4 separate regions of the Homo sapiens genome follow, and all the other regions are linked to region 1. Evidence: promoter capture Hi-C in 16 types of primary human blood cells and fetal thymus (Javierre and others, 2016). All regions are on one chromosome and are shown on one strand. Each heading gives the region's core, a stretch centred on a gene start or on the middle of the fragment in contact. The rest is flanking DNA. Distances are from core to core; before and after follow the strand shown. Region 1 holds the start of HACD1 (3-hydroxyacyl-CoA dehydratase 1). Region 2 overlaps CACNB2 (calcium voltage-gated channel auxiliary subunit beta 2). Region 3 overlaps CACNB2 (calcium voltage-gated channel auxiliary subunit beta 2). Region 4 overlaps CACNB2 (calcium voltage-gated channel auxiliary subunit beta 2).

Region 1 (2,700 bases), core at 91-2,590:
TGGAGTGCAACGGGCGATCTCTGCTCACGATTTTTAAAAATTATTTCCACTAAGGAAACTGAGGCATGGATAGGTTACGTTGTCCAAGTTCACACAGCTAATAAAATGGGAGGATTCAGGAATTTGGGGGTTGTATTTCAGTAGGTGCAAGGAATTTCAAAAGGTAATGTCATCAGTTAAGGCAGGAACCGGCCACACTTCTTTAGTGATTCTTCAGTTACTTTAGGCCATCTGGATGTATACGTGCAGGTCACAGGGGATATAATGGCTTAGCTTGGGCTCAGAGGCCTGACACTTGGTAAATAGACACACACACAGACACACAGACACACAGACACACACACACACACACACACACGCTCCGGTAAAATTCACACAAGTGAGGCCGGGTGCGGTGGCTCACGCCTGTAATCCCAGCACTTTGGGAAGCCAAGGCGGGTGGATCACTTGAGGCCAGGAGTTCGGGACCAGCCTGGCAAACGTGGTGAAACCGTCTCTACTAAAAATAACAAAAATTAGCCGGGCGTGGTGGTGCATGACTGTAGTTCCAGCTACTCGGGAGGCTGAGGCAGGAGAATCTCTTGAATCAGGGAGGCGGAGGTTGCAGTGAGCCGAGATCACAACACTGCACTCCAGACTGTAAAAAAAAAAAAAAATAAGAAATGAAAAAGGAAAAAAAAATCACTCAAGTGGGACGGTCTTCTCACTGTTGGAAGACCTGTTGGACTCGCTAGTAAACGGGAAACAGGGCGAAATAGGCGTTTCTTCCCCAGAAGCTCTTAAGAATGAATGAATGTTTGGCCCAGCGCTGTGGCTCAGGCTTGTAATCACAGAACTTTGGAAGGCAGAGGTGGGAAGATTGCTTGAGCTCACGAAATTGCAGTGAGCTATGTTCACGTCACTGCCCTCCAGCCTAGGAGACAGACTGAGACCGCATCTCTAAAAAGAAAAGAATGAGTGGCGGGAAGATCCCGCTCCCTGCCTGCGTATTGAGAAACTGCCTTACAAAAGGCCAGGCAGGGCAGAGCCACGCCAAGTTCAGGTGCGTTCCCTGTGTCCCCACTAAATGCACTCGCAGGGTGCGCATCGCCAGGGCGCAAGGCGTCTGGGCGTCTCTCTATGAAGAGGCGCCCGCAGCTAGCGAGGCGGGTGCACTTTCCTCGGGAGCGGAAACTACAGCGCCGCCTGGAAAGCGTGCCGGGGCTCGCGGGTCCTGGATCCCCAGTGCCAGGGCCAGGCGTTCTGGCCCCCGAGTGGCGCGCGCTCCCAAGGGGCGGGGCGGGGCGGGGGCGTGACGGGCGGTGGCCGGGGGCGTCCGCTCCTCCCCCTCGCGGTCGGTAGAGCTGGCTGCGCCGAGCCCCCTGCGCGCTGCACATGGGGCGCCTGACGGAAGCGGCGGCAGCGGGCAGCGGCTCTCGGGCTGCAGGCTGGGCAGGGTCCCCTCCCACGCTCCTGCCGCTGTCTCCCACGTCCCCCAGGTGCGCGGCCACCATGGCGTCCAGCGACGAGGACGGCACCAACGGCGGCGCCTCGGAGGCCGGCGAGGACCGGGAGGCTCCCGGCGAGCGGAGGCGCCTGGGGGTCTTGGCCACCGCCTGGCTCACCTTCTACGACATCGCCATGACCGCGGGGTACGCGCGCCGCGGGGCACCCTCGGGCCCTCCCCGCGCCGCGGTCCGCGGAGGTTCCGGGTTCAGGGGGCGCGGGCCGGGGTGTAAGGGGCGCGGGGGGTGCGGGCAGCGGCCGTGGGGGAAGGGAGCTGTCGCCGCGGCCACCGCCGGGGTTGAATGGAGCGGGCGGGGGGGCCGGGCCCTGCGCGCCTGGCATTGCCTAATACGGTGCACGGCGGGGCGCTGGCCGGAGGTTAAGTATAGAACCGGGCAGGAATGCGGTGCCGGCCCGCGGGGGAGGTGGCTGCTGCCCCGGCGCCGCTGCCTTCGCTGCTGTTGAAGGAGCGCCCAGCCCTGGCCACTCGATGGTCTCGGGAGCGCAGAGCTTCATGCTGCGATCGCTGGGCAGAGTTTTCGCCCCTGTTAATTTCACCGCGACTTTTTTTTTTTTTTTTTTTTAAAGCACAGCACGTCCTAGAGCTTGTCACTTGGGACGATTTTGAAATAACCACCCCACTTATCCCAGCGTGGAGCTCCTGCCCAGCATCTTTATGGCCTCAGGCTCCGTGGCTGATAAGCTGGACCTTGATTTTTGGCTTTGAGTATGACTTTGCAAGTTAAGGTTACACAATGACTGTCGCTCTTCGCAGAGCTCTCAAAGTGACTTTTGTGTCAACTGCTTCTCAAAACCTGTTGGGAAAATGCTTTTCCATTTCTCAATTGCACTGCCTTTTAAAAAAGTTATTTTCCCATTATCACTCGAAGTATTAACTTATGTAAACGCGAGGAAAAGTTTACTATTTTCTTTTTTTCTTTTTATTATTTATTTATTTATTTTGAGACGGAGTCTCGCTCGGTCTTGGCTGGAGTGCAGTGGCGGGATCTCGGCTCACTACAAGCTCCGCCTCCCGGGTTCATGCCTTTCTTCTGCCTCAGCCTCCCGAGTAGCTGGGACTACAGGCGCCCGCCACCACGCCTGGCTAATTTTTTTGTATTTTTAGTAGAGACGGGGTTTCACCATGTTAGCCAGGATGGTCTCCATCTCCTGACCTCATGATCCGCCCGCCTCGGCCTCCCAAAGTGCTGGGAT
Region 2 (2,700 bases), core at 186-2,685, 550 kb before region 1:
TGGAAAACTAGAAAACACAATCAAATGGCATCTCAGGGAAACAGTGAAGATTCAAGAGAAGAGAAAAACATTTCCAATCAACTCTCCAGATGGAAGTGCTAGCTTTTTGCCTCTTTTGAGAAGGAGTCTTGCTGTGTCGCCCAGGCTGGAGTGCAGTGGCATGATCTTGGCTCACTGCAACCTCCACTTCCCCAGTCCAAGTGATCCTCCCACCTCAGCCTCCTGAGTAGCTGGGACTACAGGCACTTGCCACTACACTCGGCTAATTTTTTGTATTTTCAGTAGAGACGGGGTTTTGCCATGTTGGCCAGGCTGGTCTCGAACTCCTGACCTCAAGTGATTCTCCCACCTCAGTCTCCCAAAGTGCTGGGATTACAGGCCTGGGACACTGTGCCCCACCACTTTTTGCCCTTGAAACATGCCAAGATCCTGGTTTTGTAATCCCGCACGGTCCTAGACTTTCTACCTTCTTAGTTTCCTCTACTATTCATCTAGATATATGCCTAAAGGAGGATCAGTTAGCTCCACAGAGAAGAAACAGAGTATTTATGAAATGTCAGCTTTTGCTCTGCACATAGTGGGGTGGGAGGTGAGGGGCAGACACTGATGTAAGCATTGATGTAATAACAGAAGTGTGTTATTGCCACTAATAATCTGCTTGCCCAACATCTTTATTTATTGTATTTGACTTCTCCGGGTAACAATTCCCACCCTCCTTTCTGCATTAAACTCAGAATTGTGCCCTGCTGCCAACTCTGATGGTACTTGATCCCAACTGGTTCATCAGAGTGCTTCATCCTTGTCCAAACAGATGAGTCCAAACGGTGGTGTGTGAACGGTGGTGTGTAAACTAAGTGAGTCAAATAAGAGTCCTTCCTTTTTTTTTTTTTTTTAAACTGGAATTAAGAAGGATGAAGAAGAACAAATAGCCTTTTTTTTTTTTTTTTTTTTTTTTTTTTCTGCTATCAAAGCCGGGAAGAAGGGAGCCTGGAGCTTCCAACTGCCATGTTGCTGCCTGCATGGGGAAATCTGGTTTGGGTTATAGAGAATCAAATACCCATGCGGGGGAGACACAGTCCAGGCAGCATCCTGCCCCCAGCCCAGGAATACCCCTGACTGTTACAGTTATGGGTGGCAACATATCTCTTGTTGCCTATGCAACTTTGAAATGGGATTCTGAAGCTTACAACCAAAATATCCTAACTTATCACAATCCCCTTTCCAAAGAATAACCCTACATTTCTTGGCTGGAGAAATTGAGTGAAACATGCTAGAAGAGACCCTAATGCCTGGCAGAAGACAGGACTGAATGTCCTTAACAGATCTACCCAATTCCACTTGCAAAATCTCCAGTGCTGTTAAACATAATGGACAATTATGACTACAAAGATCTAAAAACAACAAGAACAGCGATTTTCTCTGCAGGTAGGCAGAGTGTGCGTTTAATGATGCAGCCAGCGGTACCAAATAGAGCACACACGGTCTTGAGCACCTTGCAAGGCGGTAAATGAATCTTCTCTTCCATTGAATTAAGATTCCATGCAAGAATTATCATTACTTTAAAAAATATATGGAAAATCTTAATATGTTAATTTCCCCCAATTAGTAAGATTCCCAAACATGTTATTAAATTTCTCTAAGATGTCTAGTATTGTGGTAAAATGTGACAATACTATAATCAAGCTTAAAAGAGCATTGTCAAGAATACAACGTATTGGTTTCTAAAACCAACATAACTGTTTTCCCTCTAGCACGTCAGTGCTGCTCAAATGTCATTAAGACTATAAAAATTTGATTTAGTTAGTCTTCTTGTCCTCACAAGGGTTTTTCAACACACAAACACACAACCCACCAACATTCTAATTTTTAATGGCAGTGGGGCGTGGTTTTATCACGAAGACTAAGAATTGAAAATTTTAAAAATATAGAGGCAGTACACATGACTCTGAATGCATGTTCTGATGCCAGTATATTTACACGTATATTCCCAGGAAGATATATTTTCACAGACTCACTCTCAATGCCATCAGGAATCCACTTCTACTAAATAGAAAAGGGTGCACTATAGTTTGAAAAAGGCTGGAGGGATGGCAAGGACTTATTCTTTCACCTTTCCCTGGAGTCTGGCATTTTCTTAAGCCATCTGTAGGAATCTGAGAGCTCTCAGGTCAACTTCATTCATTCATTCTGTAAAGTGGACCTCAGTTCTTTTTGTTACCATCCTACATCCATTCATTCCTCCTCCAGAAATAGCCCTCTGAGAAGGAACACCCCTCCTCATTCTTAGCCTTGTGTGGAGTTGATTTTTCTCCCACCTCTAAAGTGAACTTATGGCTTGGGCCAGGCCCATCAGTGGGTCACAGATCCCCAGCCTCAGTGATTAGTTCATGGACATGCCATCATCCAACCAGAGCCAATGAGGTGCACTGCAGTATGAACCAGGAAGAAAGTGGGCCTAAAGCTGTTGGGAGCCATCTTGTCATCACCTAGAGCTGAGAATGAAACCAACATGGAAGACAGTAGAGGCCAGAGATGGAAAGACATCAGCTGCCCAATGACATCAATGAGCTATTGACAACTGGGCTCTGCAGTTACATGAGTCCATAAATGTCCTTGTTGCTTTAAAGCCAGCCTGAGTCATGTTTGTGGTCTCCTGCAACAGAGAATTCTAACTGATGTACCCTGTTTTCCCTCTTTTAG
Region 3 (2,700 bases), core at 85-2,584, 530 kb before region 1:
TTTACTTGTGTAAACATTATTCAGTAAACTGTTGAAAAATAACATTCTTTTAACCACTTTTTTTCTTTTCCAATTATTATGTAAAGGTTTGGACAGATGCATTTTCTAAGGCCTAAGAAGGCTAAAATAAAGTATGAAAATCTCTTTAAAATTTTCTTTTAAATTTATATTAACCTATGTGCAAAAATACTTATTACCTAGAAAGTATTTTTAAGGCCTGTTTCTTTGGGGGTGTAGCGACAATCTTTGTTAAATTCACCGTTTATCCTCATGAGGAACATGAATTATCTTTGAGAACAAAGACAAAATATAATCTCATCCCATTTTTTTTTTTTTTTTTGAGACAGTGTCTTGTGCTGTCACCCAGGCTGGAGTGCAGTGATATGATCATGGCTCACTGCAGCCTTGACTACACCCCACACCCTCTGGGCTCAAGCAATCCTCCCACCTCAGCCTCCCAAGTAACTGGAACTACAGGCACACATTGCCGTGCTTGGCTAATTTTTGTTTTTTGTAGAGACAGGGTCTCACTATGTTGCCTAGGCTGGTCTTGAACTCATGACTTTAAGCAATTCTCCCGCCCCAGCCTCCCAAAGTGGTGGGACTACAGGAGTGAGCTACCATGTCCAGCCTCCAGTACCGTTTTTAAATGAACAGAAAAGAGTATCTTCGCAATTCTATTGTCCTTTAATTTTAGCATTTTAGTGATAAATATGTCTCATTATCCAACTTCTTGAATGTGTAAGCTTTTTTGTGGTTGCTTACAATTGTACAACAGGCACTGTGAGAGCCACACAATGTTGAAGACATTCAGTCACAGAGGAGGTGGCTGTTCTCTGCAAGAAGTTGAACACATTTAAAAACTCACATTAATTTTTCCAGACCCCTGGGAATCCTGTTCATAAATGTTATTTCAGGCGTACTTAGCTACCTATGCAAAGTATATGTAATGAAATTATTACAGTTTTCAACTGTACTAAGATAGTTTATACACCAAACAACTATAGCACACTGAACTGCATGCATGCTGGTGATAGTTTTGAGAAAAAAAATTGTTCTTCAATTACTTAAGTGTATAAGGGATGATTTATTTAAAGTATTCATTTGCTCATGCCTTAAGAGTGTTAGAGCAAATCCCTATCATATATCATATTAAAAGACAAAATAAATATATATGCTTCATTATATCTCTATTCTGTTATTTTACTAATTTCCACAGGAATTTCTCTTCTAAAGTTTCTTTTTTTTTAAAAAACTGTAGAGTGATTACTTACTGACCAGTTATTTTGTTATTATAATAACAGTCAGGATCAGAAAACAAAAAAACATTTAAAGCATCTTTGGAAAGCTAATAGTCCATTTTCATATACCTTTAAAAATGTTAGTGAAAATTCATCCTGCTATTACAAAATTAAATTTATTTTAATCTAATGTGTATTTAAAATTAAGTCCATCTTGCTCGAAAGATTTGGTTTTCAGTTACTTGAAATCCTTGAAAATAAGGACTAGACTACTTCTTCTGAAGGAATTAAGGGGGGAAAAAAGTGAAGGCCAAACCTCTCCCAAACGGAAAAGACAGGGAAGATTAAGTGTTCAAATATTTAGCTGACTAAATTTGAAAAAAAAAATATATGTAATTGTTTTAGTTAATTTGCTACTTCAAGTGCAGCTACTTTTGTGAACAGTTTTTCTAAATATTTTTTACCAGCATTAAAATATATGAACGCCCAATATCTGAAACAGTTAATCATTAGTGCAGCCCAGGTTGTATAAGGAAAAGGGGAGACAGGAAAGGGGATTTGGCTGTAGTACAAGGTGTTACCTATAGATTCTCCCTGACACATGCAGGTCTCTGTGTCCTTCTTGAAAGAGTCCCAAAAGTCACTAATTTCCACTAATTGCTATTAGCTATATGAAGCTTAAAACAAATTATGTCACCACAGTAAAAAGAAAAAAAAAACTCTTATATTTATATTCCTTTAGTTGTTCCAAAACATCAAGCTAAGATTTCAGAAACTAGGGAAAAAAATTCTTAAGAAATTTCCAAAAATATATTAATGACTTATTAAAAAGACATTCAAAATCCATCATGATGTTAATATCAGCTTAGTGTGAATGAATATCCATCTTCCTTGACACGAAGTAACTTAAGAATGGACTCCAGTCTTAAAAATCAGCAAATAAATGTTGACCTTTTCACAGGTAATGAAAATCTAATTGCTGCATGATTGAAGGAGACAGGAATAATTAATTACAGAAGTTGTCAGTTAACTGGAGATTTTAGCCGTGCACTCAAAGTTGTCTTGGCAGCCCCTGGGGACAACCTGAAGAATGATGTGGCTTCTGTGCTTTTATGGTTATTGTGACACTTCTCCTACCTACAGATTACTTCCCATGAGCAAAATACTGACACTTAAAATTAGGCCGGGCACGGTGGCTCATGCTTGTAATCCCAGCACTTTGAGAAAGCAATGTGGGTGGACCACCTGAGGTCAGGAGTTTGACACTAGCCTGGCCAACATGGCGAAACCCTGTTTCTACTAAAAAATACAAAAGTTAGGCTGGGCACAGTGGCTCACACCTGTCATCCCAGCACTTTGGGAGGTAGAGGCAGAGGGAAACAGATCATTTGAGGTCAGGAGTTCAAGACTAATGTGACCAACATGGTGAAACCCCATCTCTACTAAAAATACAAAAAAA
Region 4 (2,700 bases), core at 151-2,650, 580 kb before region 1:
ATGATCAGGCCACTGCACTCCAGCCTGGGCAACAGAGCAAGACCCTGTCTCAAAAAAAAAAAAAAAAAGTTTTGTTGGTGGTGGTGCTGCCATTGTATTGTTAAACAGCTTAGTAGTGTCGGTTAAAGTCAACTTTGAAGCCACATAGTGGGTACAAACCCCACAGTTACAAGCCATGTAATTATAAGCAATTTACTTAATCTCTGTGTCACATCTGTAAAATAAGAATAGTAATAATAATATTAGCTTCCTTTTGGCAGGGATACGTTGTGGATCAAATGAGTTAATATGTGTAAAGCTCATGCAAAACAGAGCCTGGGGACATAGTAAGTGCTCAGTGCTGGCCATCACTAGGGTTACTATTGCTGCTGAGATTCACAGAGAGAGAAATAAAGAATTTTAAAAAGGAATCACAGAGATCCAGATAAAAGCTTGTTTTGAAGACTACAGATGCATTTTAATTAATGAAACAAAGAAGAGTATGCTCTGTACCAAAGAGTTGACTCTGATGACAAATGCAAGTTCATAGACATTACACAGAAAGCGACAGCTTTTACTGCTTTTTTTCTTCTTCTGCAACAACTCAAGGAGAAATGGACCAGTGTCAGAACCAGTCCACAGATTGAGGGGTGAGCCCCACCACTTATCAACGAATGCAGGTATCACAGTGACAAAGAGCCATCTCTGCCTGGTCAGGCACCGACAGTCTGAACAGTCTAAAGAACAGAGAACATTCTTGGCACGTGCATCCCAGCATTGCTGCGCATCTCTCTGGCCGAGAGCCAGGAGCTCATAATCCACGCTCTCTTGATGAGTGGAATGCATTTATGAGACATTTACCAAAAGCTGAGACACAATCTGTAACCCCAGCACAAAGTGAATCTCGTTGACCCACCCAGAACTAGAACTGGGATCTCGCCTGATTGGTCCCACTTGATACCCCCTGAGAGATCAATTATCCCAGAACCTCTCTGATAGCTGGGGTGGGTCAATGTGTGTTGATGGGCTTGTATGTGTAAGCATTTCCTCAACTGGTATGAGAATATAGTGCTGGGCGCTTCCGTTTGAAGCACTGATTCTGTCTTCCTCTGTTTACATTGGAACTTCTCCTGTGGCATGTAAAGCCTCAAAATATGCACTTTTATATAAACTTACTAAACTGCTAACAACTGTTTAATGACTGCCTAAAATAGCTGGAGTGAAAAAGAGCAAAGCCCATTACATTTTGGGAAAGCATTCCTGAGGTCATCTTAAACTCTCCTTTGCAGTAGCTGGATATTTAAAGAAATGCCATATCTTCATTATACTTGGTCATATATTTTTAAACTCTAAGGAAAAAAAATTTGAGACCATACACATCCTAAGAATCAGCCTCATTGAAGGTCTCCAAATGCTGAATTTAGAGCTAAAAGTTTGAAACCAGAGCAATTCTTATTTCTGAAATGAATCTTCTGAGAAACTGGAAATCAACATCACTATAAAGTGAATGGACATCATGATGTCGAAACTGTATTCCATGTCACATGACTGGAACTGCTAAAAACATAATTGTAGGAATGTTCGTTTCATAAAACACAGACTTCAGCACAGAATTTTGTAAAAGGCCTGCAAAGATAAGGTTGAATCTGGATATTTTCTCAGGGACAAAAAGACTCCAATTCTCATCTTTCAAGTGAAAATCTTCTAATAGGAGACACTAAACAAAATATATCTCCCCCACACCCATCTATTGCCTCAGCTGTGATTGCCTGTCCCAGAATGAACAGGTCTGATTTAAAAGAGGACATCACAGAGAGGAACCTGATAAACTTAAAGCCTTTGTTGGTTGCCCTCAGGGCACAACACCAGAAGCCCATGGGGTACCTGATAATTACAAATTGTCTGAGCTATAAAGATGTCCAGAATCTTCTAGAAGCCCCTTCTAGAAGATTCTAGAATCCCTGACAAACTGAGCTATAGCCTACAGTCTTTACAACTTTGAGTCTCATTGTCAGGTAAATTGGGAAGATTTGGTTCACTCCCACCTGGCTTCCTTCAGCTGGGGGGCCTGGAGTTGCTGACAGCCCTAGGGGCCTAATTTTCACCGTCATTCATTAACCAGTTGCAACTGCAAAGACATCTTAGTGTATTGAGCAAAGTGAAGGAGACAGATGAACATCAAGAGATGACTGTGAAAACCTGGAAGAGCAGGGACTCAGATGACAGGAAAGGAACCACAGCAGTGAGCTCAGAGGCATGGGGCATCTCTGTCTGGATAAACTCTGATTGAGAGAATCCTTCATACTCAACTCCTTCCAGACTGTGCTCACACCACAGCTTCTCCAAAAGGTCTACCCCACTTTCCCCAACCCAATACTCCAGAAGCTTTCTATCCTGGTCTACTTTTTCTTTTTATTTTTTTCTGTAGCACTTATCACCTCCTAACATACCATAGGATGTATTTATTAAGCTTATTGCTCAATGTCTATCTTCCCCTGCAGAATGGAAGCTCACAAAAGCAACAAGCTTCATGTGTTTGAGTGACTGATGCTTCATGAGCACCCAGAGGAGTACCCAGCATATAATCAGGATGCATACATATTTACTGAATAAATGAATGAATCTAGGAGTTTATCTGTTTGTCCAGAAAGCTTTAGTTTCCTTTCTACAAGCACTCCTCCATAGCCCACCAGCTCACTCCATCTTCAAGGAGAGAGGGCT

Evidence for each region. The method cuts DNA at HindIII sites, captures the fragments that hold promoters and counts their contacts. A CHiCAGO score of 5 or more calls a contact.
Region 2: a contact is called between a fragment that was not itself captured here and the fragment with the promoter of HACD1 in region 1, in 2 of 17 cell types (M2 macrophages and fetal thymus). The highest score is 6.1, in M2 macrophages.
Region 3: a contact is called between a fragment that was not itself captured here and the fragment with the promoter of HACD1 in region 1, in 2 of 17 cell types (M1 macrophages and monocytes). The highest score is 5.6, in M1 macrophages.
Region 4: a contact is called between a fragment that was not itself captured here and the fragment with the promoter of HACD1 in region 1, in 4 of 17 cell types (M1 macrophages, fetal thymus, M2 macrophages and 1 more). The highest score is 8.0, in M1 macrophages.

Annotation. Positions count from the first base shown.
Region 1 is chr10:17,616,014-17,618,713 of GRCh38, reverse strand. It overlaps HACD1 (3-hydroxyacyl-CoA dehydratase 1), which reads left to right and starts at 1,340. Exons shown (of 7, transcript NM_014241.4): 1 at 1,340-1,631. The coding sequence starts at 1,375. RefSeq lists a silencer at 1,140-1,799. The HindIII fragment of the contact is 16,531 bases long and covers 1-2,700 here.
Region 2 is chr10:18,169,781-18,172,480 of GRCh38, reverse strand. All of the region lies in intron 2 of CACNB2 (calcium voltage-gated channel auxiliary subunit beta 2), which reads right to left. Among named protein-coding and RNA genes, the nearest start is that of CACNB2, 31 kb to the right of the region's middle. The HindIII fragment of the contact is 501 bases long and covers 1,185-1,685 here.
Region 3 is chr10:18,146,645-18,149,344 of GRCh38, reverse strand. The region is part of intron 1 of CACNB2 (calcium voltage-gated channel auxiliary subunit beta 2); the gene reads right to left. Among named protein-coding and RNA genes, the nearest start is that of CACNB2, 7.6 kb to the right of the region's middle. The HindIII fragment of the contact is 1,172 bases long and covers 749-1,920 here.
Region 4 is chr10:18,193,662-18,196,361 of GRCh38, reverse strand. All of the region lies in intron 2 of CACNB2 (calcium voltage-gated channel auxiliary subunit beta 2), which reads right to left. Among named protein-coding and RNA genes, the nearest start is that of CACNB2, 55 kb to the right of the region's middle. The HindIII fragment of the contact is 1,933 bases long and covers 434-2,366 here.